2 separate regions of the Homo sapiens genome follow, and region 2 is linked to region 1. The links are contacts of gene promoters, found by promoter capture Hi-C in blood cells and fetal thymus (Javierre and others, 2016). All regions are on one chromosome and are shown on one strand. Each heading gives the region's core, a stretch centred on a gene start or on the middle of the fragment in contact. The rest is flanking DNA. Distances are from core to core; before and after follow the strand shown. Region 1 holds the start of FXYD6-AS1 (FXYD6 antisense RNA 1). Region 2 overlaps TMPRSS13 (transmembrane serine protease 13).

What was found. The method cuts DNA at HindIII sites, captures the fragments that hold promoters and counts their contacts. A CHiCAGO score of 5 or more calls a contact.
Region 2: a contact is called between a fragment that was not itself captured here and the fragment with the promoter of FXYD6-AS1 in region 1, in 7 of 17 cell types (total CD8 T cells, M1 macrophages, megakaryocytes and 4 more). The highest score is 6.1, in total CD8 T cells.

What each region holds. Positions count from the first base shown.
Region 1 is chr11:117,830,807-117,838,750 of GRCh38, reverse strand. FXYD6-AS1 (FXYD6 antisense RNA 1) reads right to left here and starts at 5,033. Exons shown (of 3, transcript NR_186291.1): 1 at 4,690-5,033; 2 at 2,249-2,482; 3 at 432-1,583. All of the region lies in intron 6 of FXYD6-FXYD2 (FXYD6-FXYD2 readthrough), which reads left to right. It overlaps FXYD6 (FXYD domain containing ion transport regulator 6), which reads left to right. Exons shown (of 8, transcript NM_022003.4): 8 at 474-1,770. The HindIII fragment of the contact is 9,424 bases long and covers 3,788-7,944 here.
Region 2 is chr11:117,920,058-117,928,001 of GRCh38, reverse strand. The region is part of intron 1 of TMPRSS13 (transmembrane serine protease 13); the gene reads left to right. Among named protein-coding and RNA genes, the nearest start is that of TMPRSS13, 5.4 kb to the left of the region's middle. The HindIII fragment of the contact is 4,391 bases long and covers 1,028-5,418 here.

The sequences.
Region 1 (7,944 bases), core at 3,784-6,283:
GGATGGGGCTCTCGAAGGCAAGTGATCACCTAAGTGCGAATGGACGAAGATTCCGATCTAGGAGGCAGGTGCCCTTCCTGGTAGCTTGGTGTTCTGTCTATTTCATCACAGACTGAGAATCTGGGAAGGCTCAGAGGAGGCAGCCTGGAAATGAAATGTCTTTTCATTTTTTTTTTCCCAAACTAGTTCTTTCTCAGAAACCTTTTATCCTAAGGCTCAGGACTGTGAGCAACCACTGGGGAGGTCCTGGGTTTAACAATTTCCTTTCCATGTCTGCCAGGCTCCAGCCCACCTGGGAGAGGCTTCTTCTGAGGTTCACCCCTCCCCTGTGTCTTTGTCTCCTTTCTCTGCGTCTCAGACGAGGCTGTCATACCGGGAATTTCAGTGGGCAGGTGCTCAAGGAAGGGAGAGAAGCAGATAAGGATACCAGAGGCAGCCGAAGTGTTTTTAATTTAAATTATCCTCCTCCTCAGCCTCTGGAACCTGAGGCGGCTGCTTGAACCTTTGGATGCAAATGTCGATGCTTAAGAAAACCGGCCACTTCAGCAACAGCCCTTTCCCCAGGAGAAGCCAAGAACTTGTGTGTCCCCCACCCTATCCCCTCTAACACCATTCCTCCACCTGATGATGCAACTAACACTTGCCTCCCCACTGCAGCCTGCGGTCCTGCCCACCTCCCGTGATGTGTGTGTGTGTGTGTGTGTGTGTGACTGTGTGTGTTTGCTAACTGTGGTCTTTGTGGCTACTTGTTTGTGGATGGTATTGTGTTTGTTAGTGAACTGTGGACTCGCTTTCCCAGGCAGGGGCTGAGCCACATGGCCATCTGCTCCTCCCTGCCCCCGTGGCCCTCCATCACCTTCTGCTCCTAGGAGGCTGCTTGTTGCCCGAGACCAGCCCCCTCCCCTGATTTAGGGATGCGTAGGGTAAGAGCACGGGCAGTGGTCTTCAGTCGTCTTGGGACCTGGGAAGGTTTGCAGCACTTTGTCATCATTCTTCATGGACTCCTTTCACTCCTTTAACAAAAACCTTGCTTCCTTATCCCACCTGATCCCAGTCTGAAGGTCTCTTAGCAACTGGAGATACAAAGCAAGGAGCTGGTGAGCCCAGCGTTGACGTCAGGCAGGCTATGCCCTTCCGTGGTTAATTTCTTCCCAGGGGCTTCCACGAGGAGTCCCCATCTGCCCCGCCCCTTCACAGAGCGCCCGGGGATTCCAGGCCCAGGGCTTCTACTCTGCCCCTGGGGAATGTGTCCCCTGCATATCTTCTCAGCAATAACTCCATGGGCTCTGGGACCCTACCCCTTCCAACCTTCCCTGCTTCTGAGACTTCAATCTACAGCCCAGCTCATCCAGATGCAGACTACAGTCCCTGCAATTGGGTCTCTGGCAGGCAATAGTTGAAGGACTCCTGTTCCGTTGGGGCCAGCACACCGGGATGGATGGAGGGAGAGCAGAGGCCTTTGCTTCTCTGCCTACGTCCCCTTAGATGGGCAGCAGAGGCAACTCCCGCATCCTTTGCTCTGCCTGTCAGTGGTCAGAGCGGTGAGCGAGGTGGGTTGGAGACTCAGCAGGCTCCGTGCAGCCCTTGGGAACAGTGAGAGGTTGAAGGTCATAACGAGAGTGGGAACTCAACCCAGATCCCGCCCCTCCTGTCCTCTGTGTTCCCGCGGAAACCAACCAAACCGTGCGCTGTGACCCATTGCTGTTCTCTGTATCGTGATCTATCCTCAACAACAACAGAAAAAAGGAATAAAATATCCTTTGTTTCCTAGTGGCTCGGAGGTGCTTTCCTTTCTGTGAAAGAACTTGAGTGTTTGTAGGGTCTGTGGAACTTAAAGGGCTAGAGGGAGTCCGTCCATGGTCAGAGGGAAGAGGAAGGACTGGATAGCCACCCAGGCAGGCACAGAGCCCCGTCAGCTGCTGTCACTGTTGCCTCCTCCCCGCTTCTCTTCCCTCCTTTCCTTTTCTTCCTTCACTTTCCTCTCCTCCTGCTCAGCCCTTCGTCCCGCACCTTCCCGCCATTTCTATTCCTCCCTCCCTCTCTCCCGCCTTCCCAGGCCACTGGGCTCAAGCCACATCCCATAGCAGGACCTGTACATTGCACACTGTCTTGGAGCAAAAAAGGGAGTCACAATGGCTTCTCCAAGTACTCAGTGGCCTGGAGTAAAACATCCTAACATTTCTCTTTGGTCAGTTCTGGGGCCACTACCTAAGGACTTGTAAAGAGAGCCAGGGGTGGTGACTCATACCTGTAATTCCAGCAACTTGGGAGCCTAAAGCAGGAGAATTGCTTGAGGCCAGGAGTTCAAGACCAGCTGGGCAACATGGTGAAATCTTAGCTGGGCATGGTGGCTCGCACCTGTTGTCACAGCTACTCGGCAGGCTGAGGCAGGAGGATTGCTTGAACCCTGGAGTTCCAGGTTGCAGTGAACCGTGATTGCACCACTGCACTCCAGCCTGGGCAACAGAATGAGACCTTGTCTCTAAAAAGAAAAAAGGAAGGAAGGGATCAAGGGAGTGACAGGGTGGGTGACGTGGATTGTGAAATACCCCTCCTCTGTGGAGCCTCCCTGGGCATTAGGTAGAATCGAATCCCTTTTTTTTTTTTTTTTTTTTTTTGAGATGGAGTTTTGCTCTTGTCGCCCAGGCTGGAGTGCAGTGGCGTTATCTTGGCCCACTGCAACCTCTGCCTTCTGAGTTCAAGCGATTCTCCTGCCTCAGCCTCCTGAGCAGCTGAGATTACAGGTGCCTTCCACCATACCCGGCTAATTTTTATATTTTTAGTAGAGACGGGATTTCTTCATGTTGTCCAAGCTGGTCTCGAACTTTTGGCCTCAAGTGATCTGCCTGCCTCAGCCTCCCAAATTGTTGGGATTAGAGGCGTGAGCCACAGCGCCCAGCCGAATCCCTTTCTTGTGCCCCAATCACACTTGTTTGCTGCCTTTATATTCACACTTCATACTTGGCATCCAGACTGTAGAGACCAGGCAGGTAATGCCAATATGTGAATCTGCTGGAGTGACGATGGGGCATGGCACCTGCAGTCACCTACGGTGTCCTCCCAAAGACACTCTGACTCAACTTTCTAAAAACCACTGTTGGCCAAACCAACACAGATGTGGGCAGATTCTGCGTGGAGGTTGCCTGTGTGCAGCTTCTGCCTCTAGTGTTTTGTGTCTTTATTGATACAATTCCTGGAGGGCAAGGACTGTGCCTGCTCTACAGAAGCCTGGAACATCTTAGGGTCTTGAAAAAAGAATCGACCCCTGGAACGTCTTAATATCTTCCATCTTGAAGCCAGCACTTAAGGAGCGGGACCCTCTGGGCCCACCTCCTTCCAGCCCCAACTTCTAAGACCCCAGTGAACCTGGCACCTGAAGCTATAGCAGGAGACAGAAGTCAGTGCTCCTTGTGGTTTCGATGGGCCTGGGAACCACCACCTTCCCTGCCCAGTGGCCACACAGGCCCTGAGTCCGCCTGGATTCCGCAAGTTGTTTAGAACCGAAGAACCGCACAGATCCGCTTGCTCGGTGCCTTCTCTACGTGTGCTCTTGCTTCTGCCTTCGGTCCCCCAGGCCTTTGGAAAGACACAGGCTTATGGTAGAGCTCAAGCTCAACCTGTCAACCCAGTGATCATGGCGATTAAAAACTATCTGGTCACAGCAAGACCTGGTAAATGAGCTTATTGTTCGGGAACACTCGTGATACATCAGGGAATTGACAGGCCTTGCAGAAATTTCATAGCGAGGCCAGGCTGAGATCCCTAGAGGCCCTAGACATGCAAAGCTTTGTGTGTGCCGCCCCCCATACGTTAGTAAAAACAGAACATTATACTTCGACATAGGAATAAGGAAGTCCAATGAGGAGGTTCTAATTTTTCTCATAATAATTATGTTAAGAGTAAGGAATGATGGTCAGCATCTCTAGCACATCATCTACAAATGGTTATCCTTACTTTGCCCGCCTCTAAGCACTCACTTAGTTTTCCTCCTAGTAATCCAGCTATATTCTGAGATTGGTCAGAGATACAATCGTCCTGGTCCAGGTTACACAGCTGGGGGATGGAGGAGCTAGGACTTGACCCCGGGCTGTCTGTCCATAGTGCTTGTCAGCACATGGCCTAGCCTCCTTCAGCAGGCAGATGCTCAGAAGAAGGGACAGTGATCAGATGGCTCCCAAGACTGCACCTGGAGCATGGCTGCCCCTTCAAGACATAAACTAGCTGGACCATGCTCCAAGGAGCCTCCTGTGGGAGTCTAATGGTCTGGAAACAAGACACATGAAGAACAATCGAAGAAATGATGGTCAAAATGGTAATAATTAAAAAAAATGAGCAGCTGAAGTTTATGGAGCACTTACTATGTGCTTGTTTGAGGACTTCACACAGATGAGCTGGATCAGAACTCAGAGTGCTATATATCTCCATGAGGAGGACCAGGAGTGTCCACTCAGCCTCCAGGCATGTGGCACTGGTTTGTAGCTGTGATTTGGTTTAATGAGGCAATGTAGCTTGACTGAATAAGAAGGACAGCTGCCATGCTGTGTCATTTCCCAGAAGGGAATCCCAAGTTCCCTGTCTCAGTAACCTCAGGTGTCCCACACCTTTTGCCTCCCAGTGACTCCCTCCACCCCCCATTCCATTTCGAAGATCTCCATGTCTCTTTGCCTGGAGGTTTTCTGCGTTACTTACCCCTGCTGTAGGAATAGGTCAGTCTGCCTTCTGGGACCCCAGGTGCTGTGGCCCTCCTACCTCTCTGTTTTTTGTTTTTTGTTTTTTTTTTGCAAGATGTAGATTAGAACTTGCCAAATTGTTCTTGGAAGAGAGTCAGAGGCAGAGTACAAGCTGTAGGGAGCGGTGTGAGGGGAGTGCCAGGCGAAGCACACTCCAAGGTCACCGGGCTGTTGGCCCCTTCCTCTGGGAGGAGGGCCTTACCTTGCTTGGAATCATGGGCTTGGCGGGGAGGCTGGGCAAAGCAGGGGTGGGAGAGCACTCCAGCTCTGTCTGGTTCACCCCACCTTGTTCCTGGCTGCTCTGCCTCACCCTGGGCCCAGCGAGAGAAAGGTCAGGTGTGTTTGCCTGAGCCAGGGGAGGAGCTTTGGAAAAACCTGTCTCCAGGCCACAGAGAAGGAATGGCCACCTCTCTCCATTAGTGTGATTTATTGCTGTCACAGCTGAGCTCCAGGGGGGCAGACTCAGCCGGCTCAAGCCAACCAGCTGTTGATCTGATGGGGCCAGCCCAGCCCCGGGCCTGGTTGCACAACAGTGGGGCACCTGCCAAGGCAATGATGGCAGAGCAGGTGATGCTGTGATCGCATGTCCTGAAGGACCTGGATGGCAGGGACTGGAGGGGGTGGGCCCCCCTGCACTATCCAGAAGAACGGTTTCCTACCTCTGAGCTGGGCTTGGAGGCAGTCTGGTAGAGCCTGAGGCTCAGAACATCCCCGAGGTCCCTTCTGCTCTAACAGTGTGAGCTTGGAAAGACCCCAGCCTCTCTGTCAGTTTCCTTTTCTGAATAATCAAGTCCTTCCTAGCTTTGGGGTAAGCTGGGCCTCCTGCTCACTGTGTAACCCTGGAAAAGCCACTTAAGCCTCAGTTTCATCACCTATAAAATAAATGCATCAAGATGTTTTCTGTTATCTCACAGGGTCAAAGTGATACAATGGACATCGAAGCACCGTGACAATTCTCCATGTAGCCATTATGCTATAAATGTTGGCATCACTATCCATTTCCTTGTCTCCTCATTCTCTGATGGCCGGGTTCCTCTTGTCTCTGTTAGACTTGGGTTCATGTTCTGACCTGTTTGCAGACCACCTGCAGTGTCCTCTGTAAAATGGGCATCTCACAGCCTGCCTGGCTGAATTGTTGGGAGGCTCTAAGCAGCTCTTTGGAACCACTGAGACCCTGGAATAGGGTGGAATTGCTGCCAAGTGTGGAGAGTGGGCACCAGGCTCAGTGCAGGTACAAACGTTTAACAGCTTACCCGACCTGAGGCCTCAAGGAGGCCAGGGACTTGGCAATCTGTGCTATAAATGAAGAGAATGGTGACACGGCCACATGCTGGCCATTCAAGCCATGTCAGTGGCATCCGGAAGGTGGTGGAGGGAAGGTAAGAGTAACCAGGGGTGGGCTTGCTCCGCGAGGTCTTCCCGGAGGTGGCGAGCCTCTCCCAGAGGTGAGAGGGAGTTTGGTTACTGGGAGGAGAAAACCAAGAAAAGCTGGAGAGGAATGGGCTCTGTTGTGGTTCAAGCCTGGATGTGAGTTCTGAGAACAGTCAAGAATGCATTTCTCTCCAAGGCATTCACTGTGGGGGAGGTGGGTCAAATGGGTTTGCCCTTGTCACCAGCTGGTGACCTTGACTCTCAGAGTACATTGCCCTTTGGCAGTTCTCAGAACCTCTGTGCACCATGGCTCAGGCCTTCTTGAAGCCAACACTTAAGGAATGGACCCTCTGGGGCCCACCTCCTTCCAGCCCTGCCTTATAAGACCCCAGGGACCTGGCACCTGCAACCATAGCAGGAGGCAGGAGCCAGCGTTCCTCAGGATTCAGGACCTCTGAGTGGGACAAATGGGGCTTGGGAACTGCCACTTTCCCTGCCCAGTGGCCATACGGGTTATGCAGCTGAGGACTGACTTGGGCCTGGGGTCATGGCTTTCTAGGTGCTTCTGGCTTCTGCTTCATTGGAGCCCCTTTCCAGCTGCAAGCCAACACCAGGAGGAACTGATCTGGGGACCTGGAGTTCAAGGCTGTAAACTCCCACAAAGGCCAGAGCTGGCGGAGCTGGAGAACCCCATTCTGGGAAGCTGGTGGTGAGGGCCTCTGCCTTTGATCACCAGGAAAACAGAGGTCAGCTGGATTCCAGCCTATTTCCTCCCTGCCCCACCAACCCAGCAACGACCACCCCAAATGACTGCCCTGAGACTTAGGAGTCAGGAGACAAAAGGGAGGCCTGCCTAGGGGAGACAGGGGAGATGGAGGCCTCGCCACTGAGGGCACGGTCCCATCAGCTGTGACAGTGCTGACGCATCCAGGAGTGGGCACTGCCTCTACCTCCCAACATCTCCCAGAGCTCTGGGTCTTGCAGAGAACAGGAGAGCACAGCTGGATGCTCCTTTGTCTCCATCCTGGAACCATTAGACAAAGGAGGTTTCTTGGTTTTGTGTGGAGAAGAAAGGGAGGCTGGAGATGCAGGGTGAGTTGTGGCCAGCAGGATCATACCAGGGCAGGGTGCTCCCAGAGGCCTGCTTTAGAGATCACCGCAACTGGGGACTGAGCCAAGGGAAGGGATTGCTGTGAGTGTTCTTGTCTCCTGGGGGGCTCAGTTCGGAGTAAGGAAAACACAGCCATCAGTTTTTAGGACCTTCTCTGGCCAAACGCTTGACCTACCTTGCCTCTGTTCCCACAACAATACTGCAAGGTAGGTGTTATTACCCTATTTTACAGGTGGGAGGAGACCCAGAGGGGTGCCCTTGCCCAGGGTCAGGCAGTCCTCAGCAAAGTCTCAGGATGAAAGGGGATTTATGCATGGGTGTGTCTGGCCCTCAGGGTGCCTTGCGTGGTGTCTAGGAGGAGAGACCCTCCTGAACTGAGCTGCTCTCAGGAACATGGGCCACAGGTGGAAGGGCCGCAACCTCTCTGCAGGAGAGCAGGTGTCTCAGAGAGGGGTTCCCTGTCCCCAGTGCTAGCTAGGACCCATGACCTGAGCTAGCTGGGGGAGGACAGGAAGGAAGTCTGAGAAGGACTTAAACATGAGTGAAGCGAGAGGGGTGGGACCTGCTTGACTTAACAAATGCCTGGGCTTCCCCCAAAGAACAAACAGGACAATTTCTGAAAATTGCTGCTGGGCTGGAGAAGGAAGGGGAGGTTAGGGGAGTGGGGGGATGGGGTGCAAGAGGAGGGAGAGAGAACCCCGAGAGGGACTCTGGGGGAGCTGTCAGCAAGGT
Region 2 (7,944 bases), core at 1,974-4,473, 91 kb before region 1:
TATCTTCCCAGGAAGCTCATCTCTTCAGAGTCAGGGATCAACATGAAGGCTGCTGGAGGGATACAGGACAGAGAACAGACTTCTTTGAGGAACTCCCAATTAATCTATGAATTAAGTGTCAAATATTATGATAGGTGCCATATTCATTCTGAAAAAAAGATTGTCCAAACTTACCTTGGAATGGAAGAATGGAATCATTACATTCTTATTTAAGGTTCTTAACTTCACTCCCCTATTTAAGATGGAACTCTGAGAGAGTGAGCCTATAGTTGGGGCTCGTATTCCCATCTGCAGCAGGTTTCTTAACCTTGATTAAATAGGAGTGGTCTGGGAGAAGCTGGTCACCTGAGCTTGTGCCTTCTCCTTGAGGGCTTTATTGCAGAGAGATGCATTGTGATTTCTGTCCCTCAACTCCAAAATGTCGTGAGGAAGATGGTGGCCAGTGGGCTTGAGCCTGATGGCACTCCTCTGTCAGCTGCTGGATCTTCAGAGGGATCTTGGAAAAGAGGTGGAGAAGGGTCTCAGTTTCTCATATTCAAAAGAAAGTTGCATGTCGTGGTGGACAGAGAACTGACCATGTTCCCCGTCAGCTTTGGGCAAGCCACTTCACCTTTCTGTACCTTAGTTTCTTCATCTGTAAAATGGAATAATAATACTACTCTCAAAAGAAGAATGTTGGACAAACTAAATTTAACAGAGTTTAATTGAGCAAAGAACAATTCTCAAATGGAGCAGTCCCCCGAAGGAGAATAGATTCAGAGAGATTCCCACACAGCTGCGTGGTCGGAGAGGATTTATGGACAGAAAAAGGCAAGCAGTGTATGGAAAAAGGAAGTGAGGTACAGAAATAGCCTTATTTGAACACTGTTTGAACAGTTGGCTGCCTTTGATTGTGCAAAATTGGTGATTGTTAACAAGAGTAGTTTACAGTCTGTTTACACGTCCAGTTGAGTTATAGTTCATTATGTACAGAGAAACCTTTTGATCCGAACTTAAAATATGTAAGGAGGCAGCTTTAGGCTAAGCTTAATTTAATAATACCTACCTCAAGGAGTCTCAAAATAGTGTCCTTCCCATAGTAAGGCTCATTTAGAATAGCATCTGGCATAGAGAGATAGAGATAGATAGATAGAGATGGAGTCAGAGAATGTTGAAATTTATCATCACTGCCTAGAATTTGGGGTGGGCTCCTATAAATTTGGACAAACATCTTCTTCTACCTGTGCCTCAGCTTCCCCACCAAAGAAGAGGGTTGGACACATTCCCCCCTGAGGCTCCTTTCTGGCTCCCTGACAGTCTGGAATTACATAGAACGGGGATGACAGGTGCGCCACACCAGATTTGTTCTTGACAATGCGTATTTTGTGCTTTTTCAATTCTCATTTTTAATTCTCAGAGCAGTGCAATGCTTATTAAAGAAAGACTGAATTAGACCCATTGATGAAGCAACATTCCTTTGTGGAGTGGATTTTCTTATACTGGGCCTTCTTCAAGTGGAACAGGTTCCAAATTAGCCCAAGGCCACAGGTGCTAGGGATTGGTGAGAACCGTCTGGGGGCCCACCGCTGGTCCAGGATAAGGCACCCTTTCCAGAGGAGCTGGGCAGTTCCTGAGATGGCTCACCCGCGGGTCAAGTCACTCTGCCATGCCGTGTCCCAGCCCCATCCCAGCCCCAGGCACCCCAAGGACCCTGGCACCTGCCCTATGCCCCTGCAGGTGTGTAGCCCTCACCTCGTCCTCCAAGGACCCTGGCACCTGCCCTATGCCTCTGCAGGTGTGCATCCCTCACCTCGTCCTCCAAGGACCCTGGCACCTGCCCTATGCCCCTGCAGGTGTGTAGCCCTCACCTCGTCCTCCAAGGACCCTGGCACCTGCCCTATGCCTCTGCAGGTGTGCATCCCTCACCTCGTCCTCCAAGGACCCTGGCACCTGCCCTATGCCCCTGCAGGTGTGCAGCCTTCACCTCGTCCTCCAAGGACCCTGGTACCTGCCCTGTGCCCCTGCAGGTGTGCAGCCCTCACCTTGTCCTCTGTTTCATGTTGTCATTGGTGAGGAGCAGACTTCCTTTGGCACAGCCACCTCGATTTCCCCTGCATTGTCCCCTGAGACTTGGCAGATGTGAGCGTAAGCGTGCGGGAGTGTGTGTATTGGGCCCTGGGCTGGGGAGCTGGGTGGGAAGGACAACTGATGTAACAATGGCCACTTAGCTTAAGTGTCTTGTTTTGGCAGAACAGATTCCTCTTGGTATAGCAACAACAAGGGTGGATGTGCCTGGCCAAGTGGGCAGGGCACTGGTGGTGCAGGCATGAGGGAAGCCACCACAGGGAACCCTGGCTTTAGCCGTCAAGTGGAGGCCTTGACAGCACCAGATGGGGGTTGGTTTCCCTAGGAGGGAAGCAATACCCAAAACTTTAGAGGGGCCCCCATTATGTACCAGCCCTGAGTGTGTCACTACCCTAGGACTGGCAGCAAGAGAAGGCACAGACACAGGGAAACATTGAGGCAGCAAGTTCCTGGGCAATCAAACATTATTTGCTGGGCAATAGTGGGCACTCCATGTTCTTTACAGCATTTGATAAATGAATGAATGAATGAGTGAATGAACGAATGAATGAACAAGGAGGCGTCTTGATTCTGGTCTAACAGGGATTCCTTGAGCTTTTTCATGTGCACAGGAGGCATCGGAAACTAGAAGGGACTTCAGCACTTACTCTGGCCAGTCCCTTTCAAGTTCGTTGTAGCAGCTGCCTCTTTTGTTCAAATGAATGTTATGTTGACTCCGCTGTATGAAACTGAAAGGTCGGTCTTCTCTGTTGAGGTGGGGTAAGGGCTCAGAGCCCACCACAGTCCCCACCAGCTGGTCTGCAAGGCACCTCCACGGAAACTGAAATGCTCTGTGGAACCCTGTTTGAAAACTGCTGATTGTCCAACACCCTTAATTTATTGAAGAGGGAGCTGAGGCCCAGAGAAGGATGTGACTGTCCCCAAGGTCACACGGCGGCCTAGGAGCAGAAGCGAGGCTCCCCGTGCCCCCCACCCCCAGGGCGAGGCAGACCCTGCAGCTCTGGCCCCTTCCAGAGTTCAGTCTGCCTCAAGGGCTGACCCAAGTCCCTGAGCTGTATACTGCGTGTGTGCTGGAGATGCTGGTGCTGGGTGAGGAGGTGGTGGGGAAGATGCCTGTGTGCTGAGGAGAGCCTGTATTTGTGGGGTTTCTCTGGGTTCGGGGAGGGGGAGAGTAGGAAAGGGCCTTGGGAACCTGGAGGTACAGTGAAGCCTGGGTCTAGCCGTGAGAAAGGGAAAAAAGTCACCCAGTCCAGCCGGGCCCTCGCTGGGAAGGGTTCAGGCCTCCCCTGCCACAACCCCAGGGCTCCCCAGGTTCCCAACAGGCAAGGAGGGTTTTTAGGCTCTGTCAAAGGGAGATCCTGATCTTTCTCAGTGCCGCCAGTGCTTCCAGAAGGGTTTAGTGAGGGGTTTTTCTTCCTGCCTAGCCCAGAGTGCTGGGTTGTTGGCCCATGGTCTGCCCGTGCCCACCCTATGGGCGCCCTTGATGCCCAGGGTCACTGGAAAAGGGACGCTGCCACGGGGGCCTCTGTCTGGGAAGGGTCCTTTCTCATGGAGGCTGGTAAGGGACAGAGAGGGGAAGAGCAGAGTGTTGTGTAACAGCCCAAGGATGGGGGCCAGAAGATCATGGTTCTAGAATTGGCACCGTCCCCACCTGGCTGTGTGTCCGTGAGCAAGTCACACAGCCTTTCTGGGCCTTCATCGCCTCAACAATAGTATAAAGGGCTTGGGTAGGTTTTCTTTTCTTTTCTTTTCTTTTCTTTGAGATGGGGTCTTGCTATGTTGCCTAGGTTGGTCTTCAGCTTCTGGCCTCAAGCCATTTTCCCACCTCAGCCTCCCAAGTAGCTGGGACTACAGGCCGGCGCCACCACGCCCAGCTTAGAGGGTTTTCAGAATCTTTGCAACTCTGACAGCCTGTGATATGCCCAACCCTGGGTGGTAGCTTTACGAAGGGATGGCCCAGGGCTGAGGAGGGAGGCCCAATTGGCTTAAACTGGACTGAAACGGGCCCTGATGCACCCGCCCTCAGGCCATGAAGCAGCTACTGCTCCCTGCTGGACATTCTTCAGGACTAGAAGGAGAGCTTTTTTTTTTTTTTTTTTAATTATTATACTTTAAGTTCTAGGGTACATGTGCACAACGTGCAGGTTTGTTACATATGTATACATGTGCCGTGTTGGTGTGCTGCACCCATTAACTCGTCCTTTACATTAGGTATTTCTCCTAATGCTATCCCTCCCCCGTCTCCCCACTCCCCGACAGGCCCTGGTGTGTGATGTTCCCCATCCTGTGTCCAAGTGTTCTCATTGTTCAATTGCGGGAGAGCTTTTTATAGGGTGGTTCACACTGCAAGCCCAGGCTCTGGGGGACCTGAAGTGCATATTTCCCAAGTTCAGGCTGCTGCTTATGGCTGAAGAACTCTCATTATGCAGAGCCTGGGGCTCGATCCACAGCAGCAGCTCCATAACCACTGAGATGAAGCAACCATGAGCCCACATCACTCAGGCCCCCTCTCTCACTGGCTGGGCCCCCAGAAGGTCCAGGAGAGGACAAGAGCTGGACATACTCAGGGGCTGGCTAACTTACTACCATCCCCACCAGGTAACGGCCCAAGGGGCAGAGTCTGCAACTGGAAACCAGAAAAACATCCCATTCGCCTCAGGGGGGATCTAACCCTGGGAGCTGTGGTGTCGAGACCCCTGGGCTGGAAGTGGGGGGCCTTGGGTTTAGTCCCTCCTCTGCTGTGAGATGGGCCTGAACAACTTTGGGCAAAGCACACAAATGTTTTGGGCCTCTACCTCTCAGTCTGTAAAGTGGGAGTAAAAATGCTTATAGACTTCTGTCCAGGGACAGGCTTTGGAAAGACTCCCAGAGCCAGGGGCTGCTCCTTTTAGCCCTCCCTGGCTTGTCCCTTACCGCTTTCCTGCGGACCCCTGCCCTGCCTTCCTGCCCCAACACGTCTGGAGGGCCCTGAACAAGCCTTGGGTGAGGACCCTTGGGAGCTGCAGAGGCATAGCCAGGTGGTAGCAGTGACAGCCTGGGGTGTGGGCCTGTTCCATGTCATGGTAAGGGCTTACAATTGTGTTACTGCAGGGGGTAACCTCAGAGACTACCCCACGGGTAGGTGGGGAGGAGAGGCATGGTCAGGAAAGAATGGTTGGCAAGGTTAGGCCAGGGATGTGGCTCAGAGTTGACCACACTCCCCTGCTCCACCCTGTGCACCTGCCCCTGAGCAGGCTGAGAAGCCTTTGGTCTGCAGGCAGGTTGTGGAGACACCAGGACACATCAAGGAGTTGGTCATTTCACTTCCACTTCTGAGTCTTCGGCTCACTGCCAAAGGCCAGGATTTGGGAAGCTTGGGTTCTGGTCCTGGTTCTGCCCCTTGTAGCTTGGGACCTTGGATAAGAAGTCTCGGCTGGGCGCGGTGGCTCACGCCTGTAATCCCAGCACTTTGGGAGGCTGAGGCGGGCGCAAGATCAAGAGATCGAGACCATCCTGGCCAACATGGTGAAACCCCATCTCTATTAAAAATACAAAAATTAGCTGGGCACAGTGGCGCGTGCCTGTAGTCCCAGGTACTCAGGAGGCTGAGGAAGGAGAATCACTTGAACCCGGGAGGTGGAGGTTGCAGTGAGCCGAGATCACGCCACTGTACTCCAGCCTGGCGACAGAGTGAGACTCTGTCTCAAAGCAAACAAACAACAAACAAACAAGTAGTCTCCTCCCCTTCCTATTCCCCAGCTGCTGAAGGCCTCTACTCTGAGGGTGAGATCAGGCCAGCGGTGGGAGGCTAGAGTCTCAGCAGTTGTTCTCCAAGAATTGGGGAAAAGAAATGAGTTAGTGCTATAACAGGTTAGGTATCCAGAAGAACTTCCAGCAGCGTGGGGCAGCAGGCCGTGAAGTGCCTAAAGAAGGTTGGTGTGGAATCTCTTACTCAGATGATCCCTGAAGATGAGAACTCTTCTTGATGTCTGGGAGGGTTTGGGTTGAGGGTCAGAGTCAGGGGGTGGAGCGGGGACCTCACTCTGGATGCTGCTCTCCTCTGGTCTGGGGGCTGCCCTTCCATCCTGATGTCCCTGTTGGGACTTGTAGTTCTCTTCATGGGCAGTTCTTCTTCAGGTCTTGAGGCTCCAGAACTCTCCTCTTGCCCTGGTCTTGGGGTCCAGCCACTTTCCACCTGCCTCCCAGGCTCTGACAGCAGAGCACTTGCTCTACCCAGACCAGAGCTAGATACCCCCAGACCCAGGGCCTGCAGAGACTCCATCCCACTTTCGGATGTGTCGCCCTTTCTGCAGTTCTTGGCTTTCCACCAATGCCCCCTCCCCACCAGTTCCCTGTCTGGTCTGACTCCCTTCTCCTGTTCCAGCTTTACAGCTTTCCCCAGCTCCCTCCCCCCACCTGCCCACCCATTTTCCTCTGGGCCTCTTCAAGATGGGGCAGCTGGGGCTGGATGGGAGGGTTCTGTTCAGGTAGAGACAGCCTGAGCTGCCTGGGAATGAGACGACTGTGCTAGAGTTCCTAAAGACCACCAGCTCATTCAGGGGGTGAGGTGGGCTGTTTCGTCTCTCTGAGCCCCGGGTCCTTGTGTACAAACTGGGGATAGTAATTCCTGCCCAGCTTGCTAACTGAGAGACTTGTGAGAATCAAATCACATAATGGTGCAAAACTGCACATACGAGCCCTGAAGAGACGAAGGTAGGTCCTGTGGATGTTTGTGACACTGTAGGTCAAGGCCCTCCTTGCTCCAAGCAGGCCTGGTTAGAATCTGAGCTGTCACTTACCTGGTGTGTGAATTTGGGCATGTTCTTAACCTGCCTGGACCTCTGTTTCAATATCTATAAAATGAGGCTAACCATACCAACTGCAAAGAGCTGTCAAGAGGTTGGAATGGGGTCCCGTAAAGTGCTCGTGGGCTGTTATCTTTGTCATGGTTTGACACACATTTATAGACCAGGCTCTTTCATGTGTATCACCCATTTATCTGGGGGAAGGAGGTAAGGTCTGCCCATTTTACACATGTGGAATCAGGCACTGAAGGGTTATGTCGCTTGCCCAGGAAACGCAGTTGGGAATGGAGGCAATCAGATTCAGATTTTTCCATAGCAAGCCCAGCATTCCCACAAACAAACAAACAAAACCCCACTATCGGCTGGGTGTGGTCTGGTGGCTCACGCCTGTAACCCCAGCACTTTGGGAGGCTGAGGCGGGTGGATCATTTGAGGTCAGGAGTTTGAGACCAGCCTGGCCAACATGGTGAAACTCCATCTCTACTAAAAATACAAAAATTAACCGGGTGTGGTGGCGGGTGCATATAATCCCAGCTTCTCGGGAGGCTGAGGCAGGAGAATCCCTTAAACCCAGCAGAGGTCGCAGTGAGCCAAGATCGCGGCACTGCACTCCAGCCTGGGCAACAGGGCAAGATTCCAATACAAAAATTAGCCAGGCACGGTGGTGCACACCTGTAGTCCCAGCTACATGGGAGGCTGAGGCAGGAGAATAGCTTGAACCTGGGAGGCGGAGGTTTCAGTGAGCCAAGATCATGCCACTGCACTGCAGCCTGGGGGACAGAGCAAGACTCAAAAAAACAAACGAGCAAACAAACAAACAAACAAAACCCCTCCATCACAGACACGGCTCACCACACCCTCACTGTGTATTGGGCGTTTTACAGGCATGATCTGTGACCTCAGTACCACGAAGCAAGGTGCTTCGCTCTAGCTTACAGATAGGAGACTGAGATGTAAAGAGGTGAAGTCACTTGCCTGGGGCGCCCAGCTGCCTTAGAGGCAGGCCAAATTCCAGCCTGGTCTCTCTAACCCAGAGCACCTGAAAACTCACCTGACCCCGATGCCCCAGGCCACCAGGCACCTCCTGGTCTTGGCA